5 separate regions of the Homo sapiens genome follow, and all the other regions are linked to region 1. Evidence: promoter capture Hi-C in 16 types of primary human blood cells and fetal thymus (Javierre and others, 2016). All regions are on one chromosome and are shown on one strand. Each heading gives the region's core, a stretch centred on a gene start or on the middle of the fragment in contact. The rest is flanking DNA. Distances are from core to core; before and after follow the strand shown.

Region 1 (5,131 bases), core at 891-3,390:
CCACTGCCATCTACAGGGGGCTTCTCTGAATATAAACTGTGCATGCTGATTAAAATCTAAAAAATAGCCAGGCAGGGTGGCTCACGCCTGTAATCTCAGCACTTTGGGAGGCCGAGGCAAGCGGATCACCTGAGGTCGGGAGTTTGAGACCAGCCTGACCAACATGGAGAAACCCCGTCTCTACTAATAATACAAAATTAGCCTGGTGTGGTGTCACATGCCTGTAATCCCAGCTACTCGGGAGGCTGAGGCAGAATAGCTTGAACCCAGGAGGCAGAGGTCACGGTGAGCCAAGATCGTGCCATTGCACTCCAGCCCGGGCAACAAGAGTGAAACTCGGTCTCAAAAAAAAAAATCTAAAAAATATATGGGATGATTTTCCCCTCCAGCCTCCTCAACCCTTCCTGTTTCCACTACACACACACTCACACATACACACACACTTATCTTGTTTTCAATCTTGCCCCAGGTCAGACAACTGTAAGAGAAACTCCTACCCAGGAAACTGAGTCCCTGCAATGCACTTACAAGTAGCTTCTCTGAAAAGAAAAAGATCATGGACAGACCAGCTGCATTTACAGAGAGTTAACCTAAGAAAAATAAAGAAACAGTGAAGGGGTGCCAGGAGCATTGGCTCATGCTTGTAATCCCAGCACTTTGGGAGGCCGAGGCAGATGGATCACGAGGTCAGGAGATCAAGACCATCCTGGCTAACACAGTGAAACCCCATCTCCACTAAAAATACAAAAAAAAAAAAAAAAAAAAAGCCAGGCGTGGTTGGGGGGGCACCTGTAGTCCCAGCTATTCGGGAGGCTGAGGTAGGAGAATGGTGTGAACCTGGGAGGCAGAGCTTGCAGTGAGCAGAGATCAGGCCACTGCACTCCAGCCTGGGCGACAAAGCGAGACTCCATCTCAAAAAAAAAAAAAAGAAAAGAAAGAAACAGTGAAAGGGTGACTCCCGCAAAAGAGATCCAGGATCACTCAATAAGGCCTCATTGTCCTAGCTAGAATGCCAATTTAACCATCCTTAATCACCTGGCTGTCAAAGGACGGGTAAAGCCTTAGGTGTCTTTTGCACAAAGAAGAAAACTTTAAAAGCTTGCTCATTTAACAGTCCAAAGTCCCACTAACCTACCCACCCTGATGTTTATTCAACACACATATCGGGTATCTCATTGGGGTAAGGGTGATGAGTTGGCTACCTCTCCCCTCTTCCACTTCTCACCCACCACCCAATCTCAAAAATGTAAGCTCCAAATAAGCAGTGACAATTATCTTGTAAACCCCTCTGTCCTCAGTATCCAAAATGATGCCTGTCATACAGTAGGCATACAATACTTCAGAATTAACATTTTAAAGACTTTTAAATACTTAAAAGAGCTAGATTTTCACTTATAGTAAATAAAATCAGTGTTGTTTAAAATCAGTGAGTCAATAAATAGCATTGTCACTACCTGAGATAAATGTTACAGGAAACAGCTGATGGAATTTAAAAACTTTGCTTCTAAGGATTGGAACCCTATTGGTAAGCGACTGCTGTTTTTTAAACACAGTTTTTACCACTATGATTTTTATTATTATGTGCAATTACTTGTCTACATGTTTACATTATACACATATCCAACACATTTCCAGCATCCTAACATAATTATTCATTTTTGGGTGTGATCTGCCTTCTTTATCCATATATACACACATTCATATTAATATAGTTGTTTGCAATCATAGCTATGTATTTTTATGGTTGGTTTTGTTTTTCACTTCACATATTGTTTCCTAAACAGCTTTCCCTGTTTCTACACTCGTCATAATAATTCTCAATGACTGCATGATATTCTAACATGTCAGTGTATCATAATTTAGCTAAATAAACTAAAATGCAACATGTAAGGTTTCCATTTTTTGCTTTGGAGATAATGTTGATAAGAGTGGCAGACACGTGGTCTCGTCTGTTTTGCGTCTTTGCTTCTGATGAATCATATTCTGGAGCTCCATCTAAGAATCCCCATGCCCAGATTAGGGACTGCGAGCGACCACCCAGCGCCAGCGCGACCAGGACCAAGGACCTCCGCGGCTGAGCGGCGAGTCCGGGAGGGGCTCTGCGCGTCCCCGCCCCGCGCCGCGTCACCGACGTCCCGCTAGGCTGAGACCGGTGCGCCGCGCGCTAGTGGCCGCTCTTCCGCGGGCTAGCGGGCGGTGGGGGCGCCAGCAGCGCGGAAGGCGGGCACGCGGGCCATGGCTCCCTGGGCGGAGGCCGAGCACTCGGCGCTGAACCCGCTGCGCGCGGTGTGGCTCACGCTGACCGCCGCCTTCCTGCTGACCCTACTGCTGCAGCTCCTGCCGCCCGGCCTGCTCCCGGGCTGCGCGATCTTCCAGGACCTGATCCGCTATGGGAAAACCAAGTGTGGGGAGCCGTCGCGCCCCGCCGCCTGCCGAGCCTTTGATGTCCCCAAGAGGTAACCGCGCCCCGGTCCCGAGCCGCGGTGGTCAAGGCGCTGAGAGTTCGGGGCGCCCCGGCTCGCGGGCAGCCAGCAGGGGGCAGCAGAGGCGGGACCCGGCCTGGGAGGCCCTGGCGGGTTCCCGGGCGCAGCACGGCGCTCCCTCGGCCTGGCCCCGGCCATGCCCCGGCTGCTGCGTGGCTCCGGGGAGCAGTGCCCGGGTGTCCGCGGACGCCGAGGGAGAGCGGAGCCGCTTGCACTCAGCTGGAGGAATGTGAACTGGTAGCCGCACGGAGCCTTTCCCTGTGGGAAATGGCAACGCATCCGAATTTAGGCCTGGTCATGCGAATTTAGGCGGCAAATTGAAGTGCCCCTTGCCCCAAATTCTCCTTTTTCCCGTACCCTGCACTCCAGTGGCTCATACTCTAACTTGAGGTCACCGGGAATCATTTGTGGAAATGAAGTTAGGCCGGCTCTTCGGCCTCGGCTTCCCCCGTTTCTCTTCCCAACCCTTGCAGTGGGGACAAAGGACTGAGTCGCCCTAACCTGCACCTTGGCAGGTGCCCCTGGGGAAGGTGGCCCAAGGTGCAGGTCATAGGCAGGCCCGTCCCGAAGCTCCATTTGACTTTCGAAAAATTCTGTAACCCAGTTCAGCGAAGGATTAAATCGTCAGGTTTTAAATAGAGACCTGTTATAATTTTCTTCTTCTCCTTTTTCCACTTTAAATTCAGGACATAGCTGGAAAGAGTTGGCCAAATACTATTCGAGATGGTAGAAATAGAACAGTGCCCCTTAAGATGCATCTTAGGCCGGGCGCAGTGGCTCACGCCTGTAATCCCAGCACTTTAGGAGGCTGAGGCAGGCGGATCGCTTGAGTTCAGGAGTTCGAGACCAGGCTGGGAAATATAGTGAGACTCCGTCTCTCCTGAAAATACAAAAAATTGGCAGGGCTTGGTGGCGTGTGCCTGTAGTGCCAGCTACTTGGAATGAAGGCAGGAAGATCATCTGAGATCAGGCATTGGAGACTGCAGTGGGCTATAATCATGGCACTGCACTCTAGCCTGGGCAACAGAGAAATACCTTGTATTTAAAAAAAATTTTTTTTTAAAGGTTAAAAACATCTGGGTTGTCGCTTGAAACACTCATAGGCAGTGCCCCAGGTCCGCAGGCAACAAAGGGACAAGTATAATTTGGCTTCTAAAACTTGGATAATCTGCGAATTTTGACTGTCAGAGAAAGATGTGTCATGTGTTAACACAGAGAAGGGAGAACTAGGTCATTCTGAGGCACCCTAAAGGGAAGAAGTAGAAGTACATGAAACAAATTGATCAAACCTCCTGTTTCCTAGAGGCTCTTTTTAAGCAAAAATTACCTGTTATCCCATTTGTAATCAGGGTTGAATCCTTTTATACTTCACAGCAATTTATTTTCTGAGTTTTGAGAAAGGTACTAGTCTAGTGTACCTGGATTAAATGGCACATGTAAAATCATCCCCTGAACTTGCATACACCCCAGCTGTTGCAACTCAAGTCTGTTATTACATGACAGCCAAGAAAGAGACTTGGTACCTTTTCCTTATTCATTACTGTAACAGTTGGTTCTGTTTGGACTTCCTGTAATTTCTACTCTATTGTGAAATAATTTACACCTTTTTCTTCTTCCAGAATTCTACAGTAGAACCTCCCATAGTGTTCAAGTGCCCTTCCCCTCCTTCTCTAAATTTAAACAGACATTTCTTTTAGTACTGGAGAAGGTACAAAACATCCAGACCAATAATGAAAGGCATTTTTATTGTGACAAAAAAAAGATAACTTGCATCAAAACTGGCAGTGTCTCCAAAAAATTAATACATGTATTACTCTCTTTTTAAATTTTATACCCCTGTTTATATGAAATAGGCAGATAATTAGAGTTGGGTGGAGGTAAGAGTCTATGGCCTCTTTTTTATACGTCTCTGTATTTTCCAAAATGTCTTCATTCACAAGATGCTTATCACTTTTATCATTTAAAAAAATGTGCTAATGGCTAAGGAGCATGTGGGAGAGATTTTACTGGTTTATAAATAGTAACCACCATTGACTAAATGTTTACATATATGATTATGTGATGACTACTAAGGAGTACGTGCCTTTCCTCATTTAATCCTCACAGTGGACCTGTGAGGGAGATGTTATTGTCATTATTCCCATTTACACACATGCAGACTCAAGCTTAGAAGATAGCAGTTGTGCAGTGATGCTAGTACTAGCAAGGGTGGTACCTGAACCCTGCCTGTTGGAATTTAAATCCCAAGCTCTTATCCTCTGGTATACTTCGTGGGAAATATCTTGTACCATGTGAAGCTCAATCTGTGTGAAAGATTAAGTGAGAATGGATTTATCCCAGATGGTAGCATTTAGTAAATATCTTGGTTAATCCAAATTTAAAATCATTTGGTAACGTTAACCTTGATACTTATATGTGAATATTTTTCCTGTGCAAAATCTAGTAGTACTCTTTTGTTTTGTTTTTTTGAGATGGAGTCTCGCTCTGTCGCCCAGGCTGGAACGTAGTGGCTCAGTCTTAGCTCACTGCAACCTCTGCCTCCTGGGTTCAAGCAATTCTCCTCCCTCAGTCTCCTGAGTAGCTGGGACTAGAGGTGCACACCACCATGCCTGGCTAATTTTTGTATTTTTTAGTGGAGACGGGGTTTC
Region 2 (5,131 bases), core at 1,245-3,744, 680 kb before region 1:
GTTTCTAAAAGGATGATGCAAGCCAGTTAAAAATCCATCTCCCACTCCAAAACATAAAAATGGTCTTGTGCATAGGTGTGAAAGAGAACACCCCCAATAATGGCTGATGTCATTGGCTATTTACCCTGGATAGCATGGTGAGAAATAATGACAATCTACCATCCAAAGCCATTTTTTCTCCCAAAAGAAATTCTCATCAGAAATGTGCCAAGTATTCTGCGGGCTTCCCTTGGAGAACATTTATGTACAGATGTTGTGGTGGTGATGAATTTTGCTGCTGTTGTTGACAGCCCTTCGAAGTTACCCTTAGGGTTTTGACTCATTTCCTCAAGTCTCTTCCAGCTGATTAAAGAAGGACACGAGGAAATGAACCTCGGTGTCTCTAGCGGAATTCTCAGAGCTGGCCTGCAGTGTGGGGACCCCTTCAAGGTAGTGGTCAAGGCTGTGGCAGCTTTTTCTTCAGAATGAATGTAGTTTAAGAGTTGGCAGGCTAGGATGTGGGAAATGCTTTCTTTTGCTGCATTAATGTGCGGTAACTTTTAAAAGTTGAGATTGAATGACATTTGCAGGAATCCAAATATGCAAATTTCATGTGCAGTTTTGGTAACTTGAATAGATATTGCCACAGCTATAAGTCCGGATTGAAGAAGGCCTGGGGAAGAGTTAGAGGAGGTAAAAGTTTGCCTGGAGGGCAAATCCAGTGTAAATCTTTGTTGTACTTAGAGAGGAATTGAGTTGAGTCATAGAGAGGAATTGAGTTGAGTCGGCTTGGCCCAGCAGCTCTGATTTCTGACATTTTTTGGATGTGATCATACAGCTCATCTTTTGACCTAAGACTCTTAATAAGTAAAGAGCAGTTGTAATCTGATAGCCCGAGGAGACATGTTTTCTTTGGCCTACATGATGCTTTTTAGAAAACATTGAGGCGATATTAAACAATCTAGAGATTTTTTTTAAATCAAGATCTCTATTTCTGTCTCCTCTTTAAGAATTGAAGGTCATGGCCCCTGTAGATGAGGCCTGTGCTCTTCAGGTTGCATTAGGCTCTAGGGCTTTATCCTGCCATCCCTTAGGCATTCCCCACTGGGCCCTGGTGAGTGCAGGAATCCAAATATGCCCCTGGGACCAGGCAGATGACAAGTGGGAGGAGACAGGCCGGCCTACCTTGTGTTGGTCTGATGGCTTCATGACTGACAGCTTGATGGCCTTAGAGCAAATTGTTTAACCTTTTTGAGCTTTCATTGTCCATCCTAGTTTTGCCACTTATTAGCTCTGTGACTTTCGGCAGATTACTTAACCTCTCTGTGCCAGTAAATGTGTTGCTACATGTAAAACTTTTAGAGTGGTGCCTCATAGTACAGGCTCAATATGTGTTAGCCATAATTATCGTCTGTAAAACAGGAATTATTATTGTCCCTAAAATGGGAATAATGCCTACTCTTTTAAGATGATTGCCCTAAAGATTAGAAAGGCATTTTTTTTGTTTGTTTTAAAGACAGTATCTTGCCCTGTTGCCCAGGCTGGAGTGCAATGGCGCAATCTCGTCTCACTGCAACCTCCACCTCCTGGGTTCAAGCGATTCTCCTGCCTCAGCCTCCTGAGTAGCTGGGATTACAGGCACCCGCCACCATGCTCGGCTAATTTTTGTACTTTTAGTAGAGATGGGGTTTCACCATGTTGGCCTGGCTGGTCTCGAACCCCTGACCTCAGGTGATCTACCTGCCTCGGCCTCCCAAAGTGCTAGGATTACAGGCATGAGCCACCATGCCTGGCCGACAGTTTTAAAAATAAGCTTTAATTTTTTTGGTCTTGTTTTATTTAGCTTTTGATAAGAGTTAGGAAATCACTAGTCCTAGAGATTGAATAGATCTTGAACTTTTTTTTTCTCCAGGGGGGAAAAAAAAAAACTACACATCTTGTAAGATTCTCCAACATAACATTTGTGTCTGGTACTTTTCCCATTCATCTTATGTTTTAGCTTTCATGCTTACATTTTGGTTATGACACACTTTTGTTAGACATCTTCCCATGCATACCTTTCTGACAGGTTTTCAACATTTTTGCAAAATTTAAGGTTTAAGCCAAATTATTATTCAGGACATGTGGCATCAGTTAATTACGAGCTTGGGCTCTGAAATTGACACGCTGGATTTTTATTCCAGTTCTGCCTCTTCCCTGCTGTGTGCTCTGGGACAAGACACTTAACCTCTCCTTAAGCTTCATTTCCTCATCTGTAAAATGGAGATGATGACATAGGGCCCCTGCGAGGATTAAATGAGATTCTGCATGTAATATGCTTAGCATAGTGCCCCGCATAGAGGAAGTGTGTGGACTCCACTATCAGGCTGATTTTCTTATGTTCCCCTTTCAGCTTTGCCTCTTAGAAAAAAATTGAAAACGTGTAAACAGAATATGTAGAGTGGTTTTTTTTTTTCGTATTAAGATGAAGTTGTTAATTAGTGGTAATGCATGTTTATCTGCTTGGCTCTTTGTTTAGCCGTATTCTTGGGTTACTTTCCACCAAAAGAGATACAAATTTCTTGATAAAAGTTTAGGTTGGGGGAATGTCTGCAAATGGCCATTTTCTGTAGGTGAATAAGTACATGTAGTTCACCTAGGGTCCATGAAAGCAGTCAAGGAGCTTTTCCATGACTGCTTTCACTAGGAGTTCAAGGACCAAGCTGAACTTGTCCATTGCCCCAGGCTAGACACAGCGGTTAGTGTTCAGTAAGTATTAGTTTAACATCTTTTCTATTCTCCAGCACTTACACTAAGCTTTGAACATAAATGGTCAGTAAACATTTTGGATTCAGTTTAACAAAGGCTTATCAATCCCCATGCCTTGGTCCTACGTTACAGGCTGGGGGTGGAGGAGGGCCAGGGCAAGAGCACAGCCCCTGATTCGAAGTAGAATTTGGTTTTCTTAAGTGTAAAGTGCTCTGGGCAGGATTTTCAAGGAGATGAGCTTAAATCTTGATGGGCAGGTAATAGAGATCAGGAATCAGTAAGAGCATCCACATAGGAGATAATATTTGAGATTAATTTCTGAACCTTAAAGGAAGAGGGCAGTGTAGTTGTGGCTTCAGCTGAAAAAAACTACAGTACAAGGAACAAGGCATTAGGATCTTACTTCAGGATTATCAAACCTTTCTATTGGTATGATGGCTGGGGGTAGGGAATTGGCTGGGAAGGTAAGACTCCTCTTACTAGCCTCAAGGAGCATGGAGGGAATGTGTATTTAGTGCTGAGTTTGGTCTAGGTTATGAAGAATGCTTTGAAGTCAAGGCTAAGGTGGACTTGACCCAGGAGTGGCCCCCCAGGCTTTGCATACTAGTCCAGGGCTGCCTGTTCCACCATTCTGTCCAATTAGACATACTCCCCAGCCTGTTCCAATAGTCTGACGAAGCGAGAGGCCAAGCCCTGCCTTAAAACTTGGACACTCCCTTGCTGTGGGCAACCAAGACTAAGGGAGAGTCTGTTTTTATTATTTATTTATTTATTTATTTATTTATTTATTTATTTATTTATGAGACAGGGTCTTGCTCTGTTGCCAGGCTGGAGTGCAGTGGCACGATCATAGTTCACCGCAGCCTCCACCTCCTGAACTCAAGTGATCCTCTCATCTCAGCCTCCTGAGTAGCTGGGACCCCAGGCGTGTGCCACCACACCGGCTAATTTTTTTATTTCTATTTTTGTAGAGAATAGTCTCGAACTTATGAGCTCAAGCGATCCCCCAGCCTCAGCCTCCCAAAATGCTGGGGTTACAGATGTAAGCCACCACACCTGGCCTGTTTTTTTTTTTTTTAATAGTAAAACATACATAAAATGAAATTTACTACCTTAATCATCTTTAAATGTATATTTCAATAGTGTTAAGTACATTCATACTGTTGAACACTTTCATCTTGCAAAACTGAAATTCTATACCCATTGAAGAGCAGCTCCCCTCTCCTTCCCCCAGCTTCTGGCAACCACCATTCTACTTTCTGTCTCTGAATTTGACTATTCCAGGTAACTCGCAAATGCAGAACCATACTGAATTTGTCTGTTTTTTGACTGGTTTATTTCACATACCGTAACATCCTCAAGGTTCACCCCTATTGTAGTATAAGTCAGAATTTTCTTCCTTTTTAAGACTGAAAAATATTCCATTGTATGTATAGACCACATTCTGTTTACCTGTTCCTCCTTTGATGGACATTTGGGTTGCAAACAATGCTGTAATGAACATTTGCATGTAAGTATCTAAGGGAGATTTTTCGTGGAGACTATTTAGGAGGGTTAAACTCATGGCTGCGAGCTACATGTTGGGGAGCTGGGCAGAAGATGGGCTCTTTAGATTATCTCTGAGTGAAGGGGTAGTGGACCTGGGTATTAGGGTACATGCTTTGGAAAGAAAGCGCCCTTAAGAGACACGAGGAGGATAAAGGTGCAGGTCTTCTCTCATTCGGCGTATTTATGGGCACCTTCTGTGTGTCAGGCACTGATGAGATTGAGGGGAAGGAGAACTGGAATTATCATGGGTGTAGGTAACTGGGAGTATTGTTGATACTATGGAATTAGTGGAAATAAAGCCAAGAGGAGGGGTGGCCTATTTGAGGGAGAGAATATGATGTTGGACTCTGCTGGGTTTATTCATTGATTATTTGTGAGCTGCATTTTCTTGAAACTCAATTTCACAGACATGGAGGGAAGACGTCAATGAAATCTTAGGGTCAGGTCCCTGTAAGAAATAAAACTAAACCCCAAAGTCACAAAACATGGCTCTATAATATTACGGTAGCATTGGGGATTATAAAGAATGGTATGTTAACTGTGAACCAGTCTTATGGTGAAAAGTAAGTTTTCATGAAAAGGAGTGTATACTAGGAAGAGAATCCTGTATTCTTCTCTGCATTAGGCCATGTTTAAGGTATGTTTTTTGTTTTTCTCAGAATAAAATGGCCATACTGGGTATAGAGGAGGACATAGAATTGACGAAAGCTTTGGGAAATAGGTCCTTTGAAAGCAACTTAAAGAAATTGGATTTATTAAGCCTGGAGAAGATAAGGTGAGGGAAGGTTTAGTGAATGACAGTCTTCAAATATTTTTAGTGTGTGAGTGAAAAGTAGAACAAAATGAGAGTCATTTA
Region 3 (5,131 bases), core at 822-3,321, 660 kb before region 1:
AACTGTATACTTGCAAGGTTAAAATGGTAAATCTTATGTCATGTATATTTTACCATAGTAAAACATTTCTTAAATGCCCCAGTTGCCAGATATATGTGTATATATACACATGCACACAGATAGGCATATGTGTATGTATAAATGTTAATCAGCCTCTCACTTATCTGTGTTTCATTTGATATCATTCAAATTAGATGCCATAAGTTAGAACTAGAGTTTAGGGTTGTCACACTTTTTTATGTCTTGAAGTTTTCATTCGTCCTTTTTTTTTTTTTTTTTTTTAATGAGAAGGAGTTTTGCTCTTGTTGCCCAGGCTAGAATGCAGTGGCATGATCTCTGCTCACTGCAACCTCCGCCTCCCCAGTTCAAGCGATTCTCCTGCCTCAGCCTGCCGAGTAGCTGGGACTACAGGCGCCCGCCACCACGCCCGGCTAATTTTTTATATTTTAGGTAGAGATGAGGTTTCACGGTGTTGGGCAGGCTGGTCTCGAACTCTTGACCTCAGGTGATCCACATGCCCCGGCCTCCCAAAGTGCTGGGATTACAGGTATGAGCCACCGTGCCGGCCTTATTTGTCTTCCTCAAAACTCCATTTCCCCTCCTGAGCCTGCAGGGAATTGACATTTTGCAGAAGCTTGAGTTTCCTGATAGGAGGAAATTTGGTGATTAGTGAATATTGGAGCGCCTAGCTCACACTCGCCCACACCCACACCTGTCCAGGACAGTGCTAACATGAAGGCAGTTTGCACTTGTCAGGTCCTCCTGCAGGATCTTGTTGCAAGAATCTGGTGATGCCCATCTGTTTGTGGAGTGTGCAGCCAGGAGGATCTGCTCGGAGGTGAGACTGCACCAGGGCTCCCTTTTGTATGTCCTAGGTCTTGGGGGGGTGAAGTCTTTGACTAGTGTGGCTGACCTTTGCCATGCTCTTTTGACCTGTTTCTTTTTACTTTGTTCTGAATTGTTCTTTAAGTGAAGGAAGAAAATGTTCAAAGAAGGGACGAGCTCGCTACCCCGACCCCAAACTTCACAGATGGTGAGGGCCTTGTTCTGGTGTTTATTGGATTCCAATCCTTAGTGCTTTTCTGGTTCATGTTTCAATATGTGCTTTCCAGAAATCAAAACACAGAAATCTACATATTTACGGCAGCGGGGATGGGGTGGGGGGTGCGGGGAAACGGGGGACTGTGCTGGGCTGTTGGGAAGAACCCACTGGAAATGAGAAAGTTCCTCCTTTCTGCTCAGGGATGGATCCCAGTATATTTTGCTTGTCACATCCAGACCTTATCCAACTCCCCAAAGACTGACTTCATAATGGCAGAGAAAGGTTTCCTCTTAGTCTGTCTCTGAGATCAAAAGGGGAGGTCTTTCCTCAAGCATTAGGTTGTATTTTTGTTAGGATGAGTGAGTGAGAAGAGAATATATTAAGTAGTCCTATGAAGGTCTTTGCTGCTGGTAAGGTGTGTGTATCTAGGAGAAGTCTGACCACATAATTAGCTGAGAAAGGTCCGTCTTTGAGTGTCGAATGATACTTGCATCTTCATAGTTAATTATAAGATGTCAGAGCCGTAAGTCAAATTTCATGTTTAGGTCCTTATTCTAATTCTGTGTCCAAAGAGTAGTATAAAAACAAAGTAGGCCTGGCATGGTGGCTCACACCTGTAATCCTAGCACTTTGAGAGGCCAAGTCGGGTGGATCACCTGAGGCCAGGAGTTCGAGATCAGCCTGGCCAACGTGGCGAAAACCTGACTCTACTAAAAATACAAAAATTAGCTGGGCATGGTGGCGGAGGTTGCAGTGAGCCGAGATCGTGCCACTTCATTCCAGCCTGGGAAAGCGAGACTCCATCTCAAAAACAAACAAAAACAAAGTAGATGTTTAGTTATATATTTATATTATAAGAGAATCACTGCTATTCATTCTTGCCACAAACATTTGAGTGCTTTCTATGTACAAGAACTGAATTTTCTTTTTTTTTTTTTTTTTGAGACTGGATCTCTCTTTGTCTCCCAGGCTGGAGTGTAGTGGCACGATCACAGCTCACTGCAGCCTCAACTTCCTGGGCTCAAGCGATCCTCCCACCTTAGCCTCCCAAGGAGCTGGGAGTACAGGCACATGCCACCATGCCTGACTAATTTTTGTATTTTTTGCAGAGATGATGTTTAGCCACATTGCACAAGCTGGTCTTGAGCTCCTGGGTAAGCAATCCTCCCGCCTTGACCTCCCAAATTTCTGGGATTAAAGGCATGGGCCACCGTGCCTGGCCCAAGCACTGAATTTTTATTAATGTAAGAGATTTCTTTGTCTTTTTTTTCTTTTTTTTTTGAGGTGGAGTCTTGCTCTATTTCCCAGGCTAGAGTGAAGTGGCACAGTCTTGGCTCACTGTAACCTCCACCTCCCAGGTTCAAGTGATCCTCCTCCCTCAGCCTCCTAAGCTGAGATTACAGGCACATGTCACCATATCCGGCTAATTTTTTTGGTATTTTTAGTAGAGACAGGGTTTCAGCATATTGGCCAAGACTGGTCTTGAACTCCTAACCTCAAGTGATCCATCTGCCTCGGCCTCCCAAAGTGCTGGGATTACAGATGTGAGCCACTGCGCCCGGCCGATATTTCTTTGTCTTGACCGTTTTTTTTTTTTTTTTTAGAAGACAGAGTCTCGCCCCGTCACCCGAGCTGGAGTGCAGTGACGCAATCTCGGCTCACTGCAACCTCTGCCTCCCTGGTTCAAACGATTCTTGTGCCTCAGCCTCCTGAGTAGCTGGGATTACAGGCATGCTACACCACACCTGGCTAAATTTTGTATTTTTAGTAGAGACGGGGTTTCACCATATTGACCATGCTGGTCTCAAACTCCTGGTCTCAAGTGATCCTCCCGCCTCAGCTTCCCACAGTGCTGGGATTACAGGTGTGAGCTACTGTGCCCGGCCTGTCTTAACCTTCCGATGGGGCCTATGTGTTTAATTCCAAACATACAATGTAGGATGATTAAATCAGGATAATTGGGGTTATCCCATCACCTCAGCATTTATTTCTTCTAAGCATTTAATTACAGATCTTAGAATTGTTAGTGGCTTTAGACTCTTTACTTTGTCAAATGAGAAAAACAAGGCCTAGAGAACCTAAGTAACTTGCCTAATGATTTAGAATCCAGAACTGCTATGTCTCTACCAGTATATATTTTCCCCTTCACATCCTTCACTAATTGCTTAAGAGCAAAAGTATGCAGTTATGGCCGGGCGCGGTGGCTCACACCTGTAATTCCAGCACTTAGGAAGGCAGAGGCAGGAGAATAGCGTGAGCCCAGGAGTTCGAGATCTGCCTGGGCAACATAGTGAGACCTCGTTCTCCACCAAAAGGTGGGGGGGTGGGGAAGACAAAACCCCCAAAACCCAAGTGTAACTACCTGCAAAAGTATGCATTTATACATTTCATCTAATATATACAAATATTAAATATTTAACAGACACCAAACATTTAATAATTTTGCTTGTCTTCTCCAGCCTGAGAAAAGCTTTGACAGATGTCCTGTCTCTAAAACACACTCACTGGAAGCTTGAGTCGTTGCTGCTGGGTCCTCTTAGTAAGTTTCCTTAGAAGCACACAGAACATTTAACATGTTCTCTATCTTGGGAGTGCTGTTCAAAAAGCAGAAGCAGCCCAAGGGCATCTTCTTTTGCCACCAGGTGGCACGCTTGTGAATTGGGAACTGGTGGAAGGAATGAGTCAAGGTGAGGGTTGCACTAAAATGAATCTCCCAGCTGGGCAATGTTGAGGAATCTGAGTGGGGAAATGCTTCATTGCAGAGAATGAAGTCTGTCTGATTTGCCCAGAGATCACAAAAATAAAAGACAGAAAAGCAGAACATGAAAATGCTACAGGAAAGGTGGGATCGGCACAAATGATACCTTGGCACTATGTCCGTGTGGTTTAAGGCAGAAAACTGAAGGGCTGACTTGGCCCTGAGGAGGAAACTACTCAGTAGCAGAGGCAGGAAGGGCCCAAACCACAGGTGAATCCACCCAGGTTGAACGCCCACACAGAGGTGTGTGGGTGGGGTGGGGTGGGGTGGGGTGGTGCAGCCTGACTGCCTCCGCTGCAAAGGATGTGCCTTTGTGTGCAGTGTGACATCCCTCTCTAGCCTTGGCGAACCTGGGAAACACTTCGTCTCACATGTCCTTGGAAATGTGGGACCCACATGTACCATGGGCTCCTTTGTACCACTGAGAGTCTCCTGAAAAGAGTAGGTCCAAAAAAAGGGGGGCTTGAGCCCAAAATGGGCTTCTGCACCTTATGGACACATGCATCAGCTCCTGGGCAGGTCAACTTAGGAGCCCTTCTAGTCATCCCTCTGGCTATCCCTCCCCTCAGTTCCTTCTTTCTTTATTGCCATCTTCCTCTGTGGATGTTCATCTCCCCAACTCTTCATTCTGAGCCTTCTGGAAGCACCCTGTGTCTTCATGCTGCCATCAGGCACTGTCCCCCACACTCACTGACTCCGAGGGTCCTCCCTCCACCTCCTCCCCCAAACTCCTCCCTGACACCAGCCAGTCCCCACAGTTGCTGCTCCCCCGGCAGCACGACAAAGCTCCCTTCTTCCATGTCCCACTTCTGCCATACCAATGGCCGGGCCTGCTTCTGCTGTACCAGTTGCCAGGCCCTGCATCTAGAGATCCTGGTTTGACTACTGTGGGCAAAGCTCTGGTGGTTCCGACATGCAGCTGGGATTGCTAATGAGTGTATGAGTTCTATGATTGTTTCTCCTCACTGCTGTCAGTGGCCAGTCCTGTGCCCTGGAGACTTGAGGGTGGGTTCCCCATCCTTCTCTGCTCCCCAACCTACTACCTTGTCCTGAGGTTCTAGTGTCCATCTATTTTGCCATTCAAAGTAATGGCAAAAACCACAATTACTTTTGCACCAACCTTCTATAGAAGGCCCTGTGCACTGTCTGATCTGGAATTTCCTGGTTCTCCTTTAGCAGTGGAGTCATTGTCATCTCTATCCTACTTCAGCCACCCTGGGCCTTGTCATTTCTCCCTGGCCCCTCTGTTCTTTGTAGTCTCCACTCCCTCCCTGGGGGATTTCATGGACACCACTACCACCCTCTGTGTGCCAGTAAGACTCCAGAGTATA
Region 4 (5,131 bases), core at 1,571-4,070, 540 kb after region 1:
CCTAAAGTAATAATTCAGACGAAATGAAGTGTTGAGCCAGGAAGATGGTGTTGGGAATAGATAGAGAATATAAACCAAAAGAGAGACTCCAACAGCAGAAGGAACAGGTTGATGCCAAACTTGCTGGGCTTGGAGTTTAGAACAGTAGTATATACTGCTGACTAAAATTCTGCACTTGGGGAAGAGCAAAGTCATTTATTCATATATTCAATCAGTAAATGAATTGAGCACCTATTACGTGCTAACACTTGTAAGCACTTAGAGATACAGCATTGAAGGAAACAGGCAAATACTTGCCTTCTCAGAGTACGTATTCTAGAGGAGACAGACAGACAAAAAAGTTAATTATATAGTATGTTAAAAGGTGCTGCTGAGTGTTCTAGAGAAAATAAAGCAGGGAATGCCAGGACTGGGAGAAGGGCGTGGGATAAGGATTTCCAGAGGAGAGCTTTCCAGGCACAGTGCAAGTGCCCTAAGGCAGAGCGTTCCTATTGTGCTTGCAGAGCAGGGAGGCCAGTGTGGTAGGAGCACTGTGAGCCAGGGGCAGACCCTGGTGGGGGCAGGGTGGATCTGGAAGGGATTGTGGACCATGCAAAGATTTGTCTTTTACTGTGCATGACATTGCAGGGTAGGGAGGGGAGATGGTAGACTTTGAGCCATGGAATGACATGGCCTGACTTAGATTTAATAGCCATTGTAGCAGGAAGCCATAGGGACAGTCCTTTTCTGGCATTTATGCTGTTGATCTTTAGTTTAGGAATTGGACATCATATCCCTTTTTAAAAAAATAGAGCTAACGAATTCCCACCTATCTAGTCAAATACGTAAATAGCTAATAGTATTCTAGATAGTCCTGGCTGAAGATCCATTTTATTAAAATTCTGAAATACTCTGAGAAACATCTAAAATCTTTTATCTGTAAGTTTTTGTGAATATGAAGTTTAAAAATAAGAAATCTAATGCATAAGCTGTGTTAATAATTAATAATAATTATATGGACAATATGGCCCTAAAAGATGTTCTAGAATTGGAAATAATGATATGTTTTGTCTCTGTGGAATGAGAATATTGGAATTGCTAATATAAAAGCAACTTCTATCTGGTATCTTAGAGTCATGCTTCAGAAGAAAGCAGAAGGGTTAGGTAGAGATTTATGAAAAGTGTGATAGTAAGAAGGAGGCAAATTATGTATTCCTATCCATGCATTTGTGTTTACGTATTTGACAGTAGGACATTTTTATGTATCAGTTTTCATGTATTTTCTCTTTGAAGTGCCTTTGCCCATTTAAAGTAAAATCTGGCTCTTGGACTTCTAAACTGAGATAATAAGAAAAGGGATATAAACCTTAGTAAAATAAATAATATTTTTAAATTATAATTTTAAAAATGCTTTTCAAAAAAAAAAATCTCCTGAGGTGCTTATATACTTCTTGTCTGGCTAGCTATTTTAGGTGAGATTATTTTAGTTCCTCAGAATTAGTATATTAAGCATTATACACCTCCACTGTTGTGTTATATTTTCTTTTGTCTTGTTTTCATTCAACAGAATTCAGATTTGGAGATATCTTAAGGAAAAAATTTACATTACTGGAATTCTTTGCCTTTTGAAGTTTTAGGAGGATTAATATTCTGAATAATTAAACATAAATTATATTTCCTTAAGAGTTTTGTGCCAACAAGTGCTTTGTCCCCTAGTGAATATTCAAATAAGTAATCAATAAGCTTTTTGCCTAATTGTGTTCCCAGTGAGTATTATTGCCCTATCTTTATATATAATGCAGTATTCATGAATGTAATTTAAAGTGAAGAAACAAGATTAGAGCCAACCTAGTAATGATTTATGGAATCATTCTCTGCTCAGAGTATATTTTTGATTGACAATATTAATGAGCTTTTTAAATGAAATTGACTTTTTCCCAGGAATGTTGCGTCATCCTGTGATTTGAGCTTTTCACAGATTATGTATTTTTACCTCATCATCTAATTTGGTTGCTGAAGAGTTGTCAAAAACAGGAATTTTAAGGAAGAAGAAAGGAATGAAGAAAAAAGAAGGAAACAGACCAATCAGTGTTTCTTTAGTAAGAAATCATAATTCAGAAAGCTATTTGCACTTGGTTAGGTTTACACAGCTCACACTTTTTGGCAGGAACAGGAAAAACTTGTTCAAAATTCTTTGGGAATAAGAATCACTAGCCACTGCCTCTAGCTGTACTGAGGCTGAATCTAAGCAAAGCCCCATTTTTTGGTATACAGAAAATAGTTGTAGCTTGGACTGCCCAGATTCCCTCCTCCCGGGACTGCTACCTTCGTCTGCAACTCTGGGTCATACATGTAGGGTAGTTAGTAGAGATGGTCCATCCATGCTTGGGTAGGAAAGGAGTTTTCCTCTCCTAATAGCCTCCTGAGATTGGCAGTCTGACTTGAAGATGACTCACATGTCTTCTCTCCACCTCAGTTTTACATTTGTAGAATTTGTCTTATTGTTGTGAACCCCAAATGTCTGAGACAAGATCTCAGTCAATTTAGGAAGTTTATTTTGCCAAAGTTAAGGATGCGCACCCATGATACAGCCTCAGGAGGTCCTGACGACATGTGCCCAAGGTGGTCCGAGCACACCTTGGTTTTATACATTTTAGGGAGACATGGGACGTCAATCAGTATATGTAAGGTGAACACTGGTTTGGTCTGGAAAGGCCAAACAACTTGAAGCAAAGGTGGGACAACAAAGTGGGGAGGGGGCTTCCAGATCATAGGTAGACAAGCAACAAATGGTTGCATTCCTTTGAGTTTCTGATTAGCCTTTCCAAAGGAGCCAATCAGATACGCATTTATCTCAGTGAGCAGAAGAATGACTTTGAATAGAAAGGGAGGCAGATTTGCCCAAGCAGTTCCCAGCTTGACTTTTCCCTATAACTTAGTGATTTTGGGGCCCCAAGATTTATTTTCCTTTCACATTGTATAAAGAAAAAGTAAACCATGGAGACCCTACAGCGGACCCAGGTTCCACTGCTTGCTACTCGAAAGCCAAACACTAGAGGCAAGGGTTGCTGTGAGGAAAGGCAGATTTAATCAGCCAGAGAAGCTGAGGTGAGTGGAAGGAAAAAAAAATCAGAGAGCCAGTAGAGAAGATGGTGAACTAGCATTCTAAAGTACCATCTTAAAATTTAAAACTTACCATAGGGTTTTTGTTGTTGTTGTTGTTGTATTGTGTTTTGTTTTGTTTTTGTTTTCGTTTTTGTTTTTTTAGGCAGGGTCTCACTCTGACACCCAGGCTGGAATGCAGTGATGTGATCACAGCTCACTGCAGCCTCAACTTCCTGGGCTCAAGCAGTCCTTCTGCCTCAGCCTCCTGAGTAGCTGGGACTACAGGCATGTGCCACCGCTCCCGGCTAATTTTGCATTTTCTGTAGATACAGGGTTTCACCATGTTGCCCAGGCTGGCATCATAGAGTTTTGGAGAGACACTGATACAGTAAAACCTTCCTGTGGTCTTTCCTATCAGTCAGTTCTGTTGAGTGCCAGGAAAAAAGGTATCTAAGTCATTTGAGTCCCACTGAAAAAGTAATACATCCCAATGAAATAGGAATTTTAATTTATATTTGCTTTTAAAGTTATACAAAGATCATGGGAAATAATTGCCCATTTGACTAACTGTTCTTACATTAGATACAGAGATATGTGAAAAATGTATATGGCATACAAATTGAAAAAGGACAGGATCTATATATATTATGTTTGGTCCAAATGCTATTTTATAAGAATACAGCTATAAAATATTTTAAGACAATCAATGGTAAACTGTGAATCAATATACAAATATTTACACAACATGTACCTTTTGGAAGGTATACCTGATCTTTAAAGCAGGTAAACATGTTCTAAAAATTGACACATTAATTTGAAATAATATAGGAAATTGAAGCTTAGATTTTATGATAAACTTAAAAGAATAGGTACAACTTTTCTGCTTTATTTAAATTTTATTTTCTGGTTTATTTAAATTTAGTCAAATTCTGTTTGTGGCATTTAACTTCATACTTGGAAAAATATACAGTCTCCCACTGTTGAGGAACTCTTCTGGAGAGTATATTTTTATGTGATAATAAGTAGAGATGATGAAGAAATGATTTTTGTATGCCAAAGGATACAAAAATGTTTTTATTTAAGCGAGAATTAATCAAATCTGTTTTAAGAAAATTAATTACTTGATTTTGAAAACTGTAAGATATACTAATGAAGTTCTTATGGAAAATAACCTATTTTGGAGTAATATCCCAAGCTGGCAGAGGCTCAGTGAAACTAAATATTCTTAAGTGCCATTGACACTATTTATTATTGGTCTGTTTTTAAAGCAACATGACAATATAGAGGAAGAGCAATTAAGATTCCCATACACTTTGACCCTGTTATTCCATCCTTAAGAAATTATTTCAAAGAAATAGTTCATTAGAGATGAAAAGCTTATTGTAACATTGTCTATCATAGCAAAACATGGAAACCACTTCATTGTCCTGTGTTAGGGGATTGGTTTACTTAATGGTGCTACACCAACAAAACTGAATACTGTGCTGTCATTAAAATGTGAGACTGGAGAAATGTATTTGTTCTGATTTAGATATTCTGTATAGTGTGATTACAGTGATATTTAAAATATGCAAAAGGTAATATAGAAAAATGAAAATATAAATATGGTTATGTTTGACTTCATATTTTTGTAAATTGTTAATGTTATGATGCCTATTCAATTGTTTTTTAAGACAGAAAGTAACCTATTTTTATATCCTGTGAAATACATCAAAGTTTTGGACTATGAAATTTAAAACAAGCATGAAGGACTTGGGGAATTGAAAAATTGAAATTGTTATATGTGTTTTATTAATAAGAAGTACATGTTACTTTTATTTTAAGAATTACATGGATTATTTATCCCGACTATATGAAAGAGAAATCAAAGATTTCTTTGAAGTTGCAAAGATCAAGATGACTGGCACAACTAAAGAAAGCAAGAAGTTTGGTAAGCTTAGGCATGTCAGTTCATTATCTTCCTATTAAAAATGGCTTTATTTATAACAAATAATTCTAAGACTTCTTAAGCAAGGTGGAGGTAGATCCAGCAGAATTTATGAAAAAA
Region 5 (5,131 bases), core at 933-3,432, 520 kb after region 1:
TCCCCCTGGCCCTCTCTCACTCTGCCCTTCATCTTTCTCTGCAGCCCTAACACACCTCCATAGCACAAGAGAATACTTTGTACCACAACTACTTGTATGTCGATGGGATGAACATAATAGCAAGGCTTATACTAGTGAAACTACAGGTGCTCTTTGACTCTACAAATCTCATACATTTACTAAAAAGGCACAAAGTAAAAACAACAAAAAACAAAAAAACTGCCTGTGTAAAGCAATCTGTTAAAATAAAATTCTGATTTTACCCTTACTTTGGTACAAACCTCCAAGGATCAAAAATCTGGACAAAATGACAGGTAGTTGAGTTGGGTGCAAAAAAAATGAAGTAAGAACAATTTGAGGAGAGCCCTCTATATCTGTATAATTCAGATTTCTTCCAAATGTAAATCATGCCTTTTCTTTAAGTATTCTAGGCTTACTGGCCCTTTGTTTTATCCCTAAGGAGCACCCAATGCTTAGAAAAATGTGAAATGTAGAAACAGGATTTGACAGAAATTTAGAAAGCTAGAGATTGGAAAGAAAATTATAATGGGATGTTTAAAAATAATTTAGGCCAGGCGTGGTGGCTCACGCCTGTAATCCTAACACTTTGGGAGGCCGAGGCTGGTGGATTGCCTGAGCTCAGGAGTTCAAGACCAGCCTGGGTAACACAGTGAAACCCTGTCTCTACTAAAATACAAAAAATTAGCTGGGCGTGGCGGCACACGCCTGTAGTCCCAGCTTCTTGGGAGGCTGAGGCAAGAGAATTGCTTGAACCTGAGAGGCAGAGGTTGCAGTGAGCCGAGATTGCGCCACTGCACTCCAGCCTGGGCAACAGAGTGAGACTCTGTCTCCACAAAAAAAAACAAAAAAAAACTTCTGTAAGTAATTTTTATTACCATGGGGAGGGATCAAGAGTGGAAACTTTTCTGGTTGTTTTCTGTTAAGACAAAACACTTTAAGGGTTTTTAAAACTGCACCTTTATTAAAAAACATTTTTCCCTTCAGTAGTTTTGCACTTCGTAACCCTGTTGACTTGCATAATTCAGTAACATTGCTGAATGCTTATTTGAATGCATTCTCACAGCTGATGCCTCTTGCAGACTTGCTTAATGGATTTTTTTTTTTTGCATTTTATGTAGGCACCTTGGTGTGTGTATGCTATATATGGATATAAAACATAAAATTTTTATACATAACTTAACATTAGCCATTTAGTATCACACATTGATTTGTGAGTGTTGCCACTGGAGCACTCAGCTTCTTTTATGGTATTATGGGAAATATTCCCAGGGAAGAGATTATTTCCCATCAAGTTTCATATTGGTTGCCAATACTCTTGTTGTGTTTTTTTGTAAGTAATAATGCAATTACCTTTTCATTGTATATGCAGGTTTTAAATTTTTGACGCTTCAATTCTGTTTATTAAGCTATAAATTGAACTAATTAGTAGTTCCATGCTGCTGTAATATGATTGTTGTACCAAAGGTCAAGTCCTGATTCCTGAGATACTCCAGTTCTTCACAGTGAAAGTCTGATATAACTTCCCTTACTTTAATGTATTTACATTTCCCCCAAATAACACTTTAAATGAATCAAATATATTATTATTCTTTTACCCTGTAGAACATTAAGAATATTTGAGCCTATTTTTTAATTCCTTGGATGTGAAGTATACATCCATAAGTTTGTTTGTTTGTTTGTCTGCTTGTTTGTTTTGAGACAGGGTCTCACTCTGTCACCCAGGCTGGAGTGCGGTGGCACAATCTTGGCTCACTGCAGCCTCCACCTTCCGGGCTCAAGCCATCCTCCCACCTTAGCCTCCCGAGTAGCTGGGACTACACGTACATGCCACTACACCCGGCTAATTTTTGTGTTTTTTGTAGAGAAGTGTTTTGCCATGTTGCCCAGGCCAGTCTCAAATTCCTGGGTTCAAGCAATCTACCCACCTCGGCCTCCCAAAGTGCTAGGATTACAGGCGTGAGCTACCAAGCCCAGCCTGTTTTTTTATATAATAGTCAAGTAGTTCTATTCATTCAAGGGAGAAATATTAGCCTGATGTGGATTATTGCTATAATGTGGCTTAAGAGACTTGAAGAAACTATAGTGTAATTCTCTCAGATTGGTTGAGCTTCTTTATCACATGAAAGAACGTTAGGCCAGGAACAGGGCTCATGCCTGTAATTCCAGCACTTTGGGAGGCCGAAGCAGGAGGATCAACTGGATAACATGGGGAGATCTTGTCTCTACAAGAACATTTTAAAAATTAGGCATGCTGGTATGTGTCCGTGTCCCCAGCTACTCAGGAGGCTGAGGTTGGGAGGATTGCCTGAGCCCAGGAGGTGGAGGCTGCAGTGAACCATGATTGCACCACTGCATTGTAGCCTTGGCAACAAAGTGAGACCCTGTCTCAAAAAAATAAAGAACTTTGAGACCTAGCAGCACTTTTAGCTTTCAAGATATCTTTAATCATTCCTTATTTTCAAAATAGAAAATAATTAGGCGCAATCTCTGCTTTTCACCTCACTTGTTCTTAGAAAGTACACCAGGATATACATTGCATTTTTCTCAAGTTTTATACTTAGAAGATATAGTCCTTATTAGGGAGTTAGTGTCCAATTACAGTTTCAAATAGTAGTACATTATTAAAGAAAATGTATAACTAAAACTCTATAGGCAATTTAAAAAGAAAAATTAGGTCCATGTCAAAGCTAGAGACCATTGTCATCTTACTGATGAGGAAGCTAAGCCACAAAGCCATTAATGCATCCTATACTTCTACTCATAGACCTAAAGGGCATAGGAAGAAAATGACCACAACAGTATGTTGTTTTTTCATCCAGCTCCTTTGGGGTGGTAAACTTTTTGCTATAAATTGAATTCTCCAAACTCTTCCTTTCCAGTTGCTTAGCTGATTTTTAATACTCTTCATTTTCCAAAAACAGCGTAAATGCCTATGCAGATTTTACATTAACAATGTAAAAGGATGTGATCAAAAATAATATCTTTTGTATATTTTTATTTTAGGAAAATCCTGAATTTGATTTACACTTTGAAAAAATATATAAATGGGTTGCCAGCAGCACTGCTGAAAAGAATGCATTTATTTCATGCATTTGGAAATTGAATCAGCGATATCTCCGGAAGAAAATTGATTTTGTCAATGTTAGCTCACAGCTTTTGGAAGGTAAAGTTAAATAAAAATGTATATGTAAAATCAATTATATCTTTAAGTGAATATATAATTTGACATCATTCAAATTAATTAGAATACTGAATTATCTTATCGTAAAAGAACTTTAAAATAATTTTTCTTATTGCAGAAATTATGCTTGTTTATTGTAGAATATTAATACATTATGATAAATAAATAAAAACCACTTATTCTTCAGCAATAACTACTGTTAGCACTTTGTTAGATATTCGTCTAGTCTTTTTCCTATGCATAAACACCTTTTTAAGATAAAGAAATTTACATTATGTTTTCTAACATACTTTTTCATATAATGTATCATGAACATTTTTCATGTTGTTGAATACTTACCCCAACATTATTTTCAGTAGCACCATAGTATTCCATTATATGGATATACCATGTTTATTTAACTAATCATTTATTTTTTAATTTTCCAATCTTTGCTTCTTTTAAACAGCTCTGGGATAAATACCCTTGTAGCAGTATTTTTGTACAGAGGGTAGATGTAGTGGTTAAGAACATAGCTCTGAAGTCAGACTTCTTGGGTTCAAATCCTGGCTTTGCCACTAACTAGCTATATGACTTTGCATTGATACTTACTCTCTATGTTTCAGTTTCCCTTATCTCAGAACTAGAGATAATAATAGTATCTACCTCATAGGGTTGTTATGAGGATTAAATTACTTAATATATGAACATAGTAAGAACAGTGCCAGGTACATAGTAAGTGCTCAGTAAATATTAGCTATTATTATGTTACCAGTATAAAATCCTTAGACATGAAGATTATTAGAATATTTTTGATCAGTATATCTTCAGGAATGTTACTATGCATCATTTTGTGTTACAAGACAAAAACTCTACCATTAATTAGTGAAAATATGAGATTTTCTCTACTTTTAAAATTTCTTTCCTAAAGATACAAACATTGTAAGATAGCACTTAGTAATCAGTGAGCCTGCTGCTGATTTTAGGCTTGATGCTTGGCACTGGCAGAAACAAGTCACATATGTCAGCCACCAGTAGTGCTGGTCTTATGTAGGAATCCCCAGGGTTGCCATCTCACCAACACTAGTCCCCAACATCTTGGTAATTGAGTGTGTAGAGGGAATGACCTTCAAGAAATTTATGGTAACTTTTCATGCCTTGAATCGTGGTTTAATTTGCTTCGAATGGCTTTTATTTTTTTTAACATTTCAGGGTTGAACATTCTGATGAGTCAGTGATTCAGTGATTCACAAGCTTGCTGTTCTGTCTTCAAATATTATGCATTTCCAGATGTTATTTATTGTGTAAGGTGATTTTAAACCAGTATATTTCAGGACAGTCATATAGAAAAATACATACCCTACCTGGATCTGCCTCATTAAGAAATACTACCAAAATCAGTGAGAAGAGTATTACTGTTTTTGAAAATGAAGTGTCTAACTTAAAAAAAAAAAGGCATTCAATTTTTCAGGCCATAAAACAAGAGTATAGACACGTTCATGTGTATAAACATTAACCCTAACTGAGATCGATTTTAAGAATACTGAGAAGATCCTTAAGGATCTCATTTTGAAAATCACTTGCTATATACGTCAGTAACTCTTGCTTTGGTTTAGTGGAGTTCAGGGAATAGCTTCATTAATGTCTACAAACTTGTTTTATGGACCTTGAAATTACAGCCTTTAATTCCCATTAAAAAAAAATGTCTCTAAGTTTTGAGTGATGTTAGAAAACAAATAAAAAATTATTACCACCCCAGTTTAAGAGCTCAATAATTAAGTAAGACTATTTTGATTATAAATGGTAGCAGTGGCAACTTGGTAGTTTTTATTGTTGACAATTGAATACGTAAGTTAAATAATGGGGCTCCTCAGCAGAATAAGGTTTGTAAAAGAGGACTTTTCAGCAGTTGAAGTAGATTGAAGTTTTTATTTGGCCTTTTTTTTCATT

Evidence for each region. The method cuts DNA at HindIII sites, captures the fragments that hold promoters and counts their contacts. A CHiCAGO score of 5 or more calls a contact.
Region 2: a contact is called between a fragment that was not itself captured here and the fragment with the promoter of SRD5A3 in region 1, in 1 of 17 cell types (M2 macrophages). The highest score is 6.4, in M2 macrophages.
Region 3: a contact is called between a fragment that was not itself captured here and the fragment with the promoter of SRD5A3 in region 1, in 1 of 17 cell types (M2 macrophages). The highest score is 7.3, in M2 macrophages.
Region 4: a contact is called between a fragment that was not itself captured here and the fragment with the promoter of SRD5A3 in region 1, in 3 of 17 cell types (total CD8 T cells, naive CD4 T cells and activated CD4 T cells). The highest score is 6.9, in total CD8 T cells.
Region 5: a contact is called between a fragment that was not itself captured here and the fragment with the promoter of SRD5A3 in region 1, in 8 of 17 cell types (naive CD8 T cells, naive CD4 T cells, naive B cells and 5 more). The highest score is 9.0, in naive CD8 T cells.

The regions. Positions count from the first base shown.
Region 1 is chr4:55,344,102-55,349,232 of GRCh38, forward strand. It overlaps SRD5A3 (steroid 5 alpha-reductase 3), which reads left to right and starts at 2,141. Exons shown (of 5, transcript NM_024592.5): 1 at 2,141-2,456. The coding sequence starts at 2,236. RefSeq lists an enhancer at 1,862-2,622 and silencers at 2,074-2,243, 2,454-2,723. The HindIII fragment of the contact is 3,550 bases long and covers 1,097-4,646 here.
Region 2 is chr4:54,661,099-54,666,229 of GRCh38, forward strand. All of the region lies in intron 1 of KIT (KIT proto-oncogene, receptor tyrosine kinase), which reads left to right. Among named protein-coding and RNA genes, the nearest start is that of KIT, 5.7 kb to the left of the region's middle. The HindIII fragment of the contact is 558 bases long and covers 2,216-2,773 here.
Region 3 is chr4:54,680,124-54,685,254 of GRCh38, forward strand. The region is part of intron 1 of KIT (KIT proto-oncogene, receptor tyrosine kinase); the gene reads left to right. Among named protein-coding and RNA genes, the nearest start is that of KIT, 25 kb to the left of the region's middle. The HindIII fragment of the contact is 2,878 bases long and covers 633-3,510 here.
Region 4 is chr4:55,878,915-55,884,045 of GRCh38, forward strand. EXOC1 (exocyst complex component 1) reads left to right here. Exons shown (of 19, transcript NM_001024924.2): 10 at 4,909-5,014. Among named protein-coding and RNA genes, the nearest start is that of EXOC1, 28 kb to the left of the region's middle. The HindIII fragment of the contact is 2,200 bases long and covers 1,721-3,920 here.
Region 5 is chr4:55,861,203-55,866,333 of GRCh38, forward strand. EXOC1 (exocyst complex component 1) reads left to right here. Exons shown (of 19, transcript NM_001024924.2): 4 at 3,025-3,184. Among named protein-coding and RNA genes, the nearest start is that of EXOC1, 10 kb to the left of the region's middle. RefSeq lists an enhancer at 1-58. The HindIII fragment of the contact is 4,502 bases long and covers 1-4,433 here.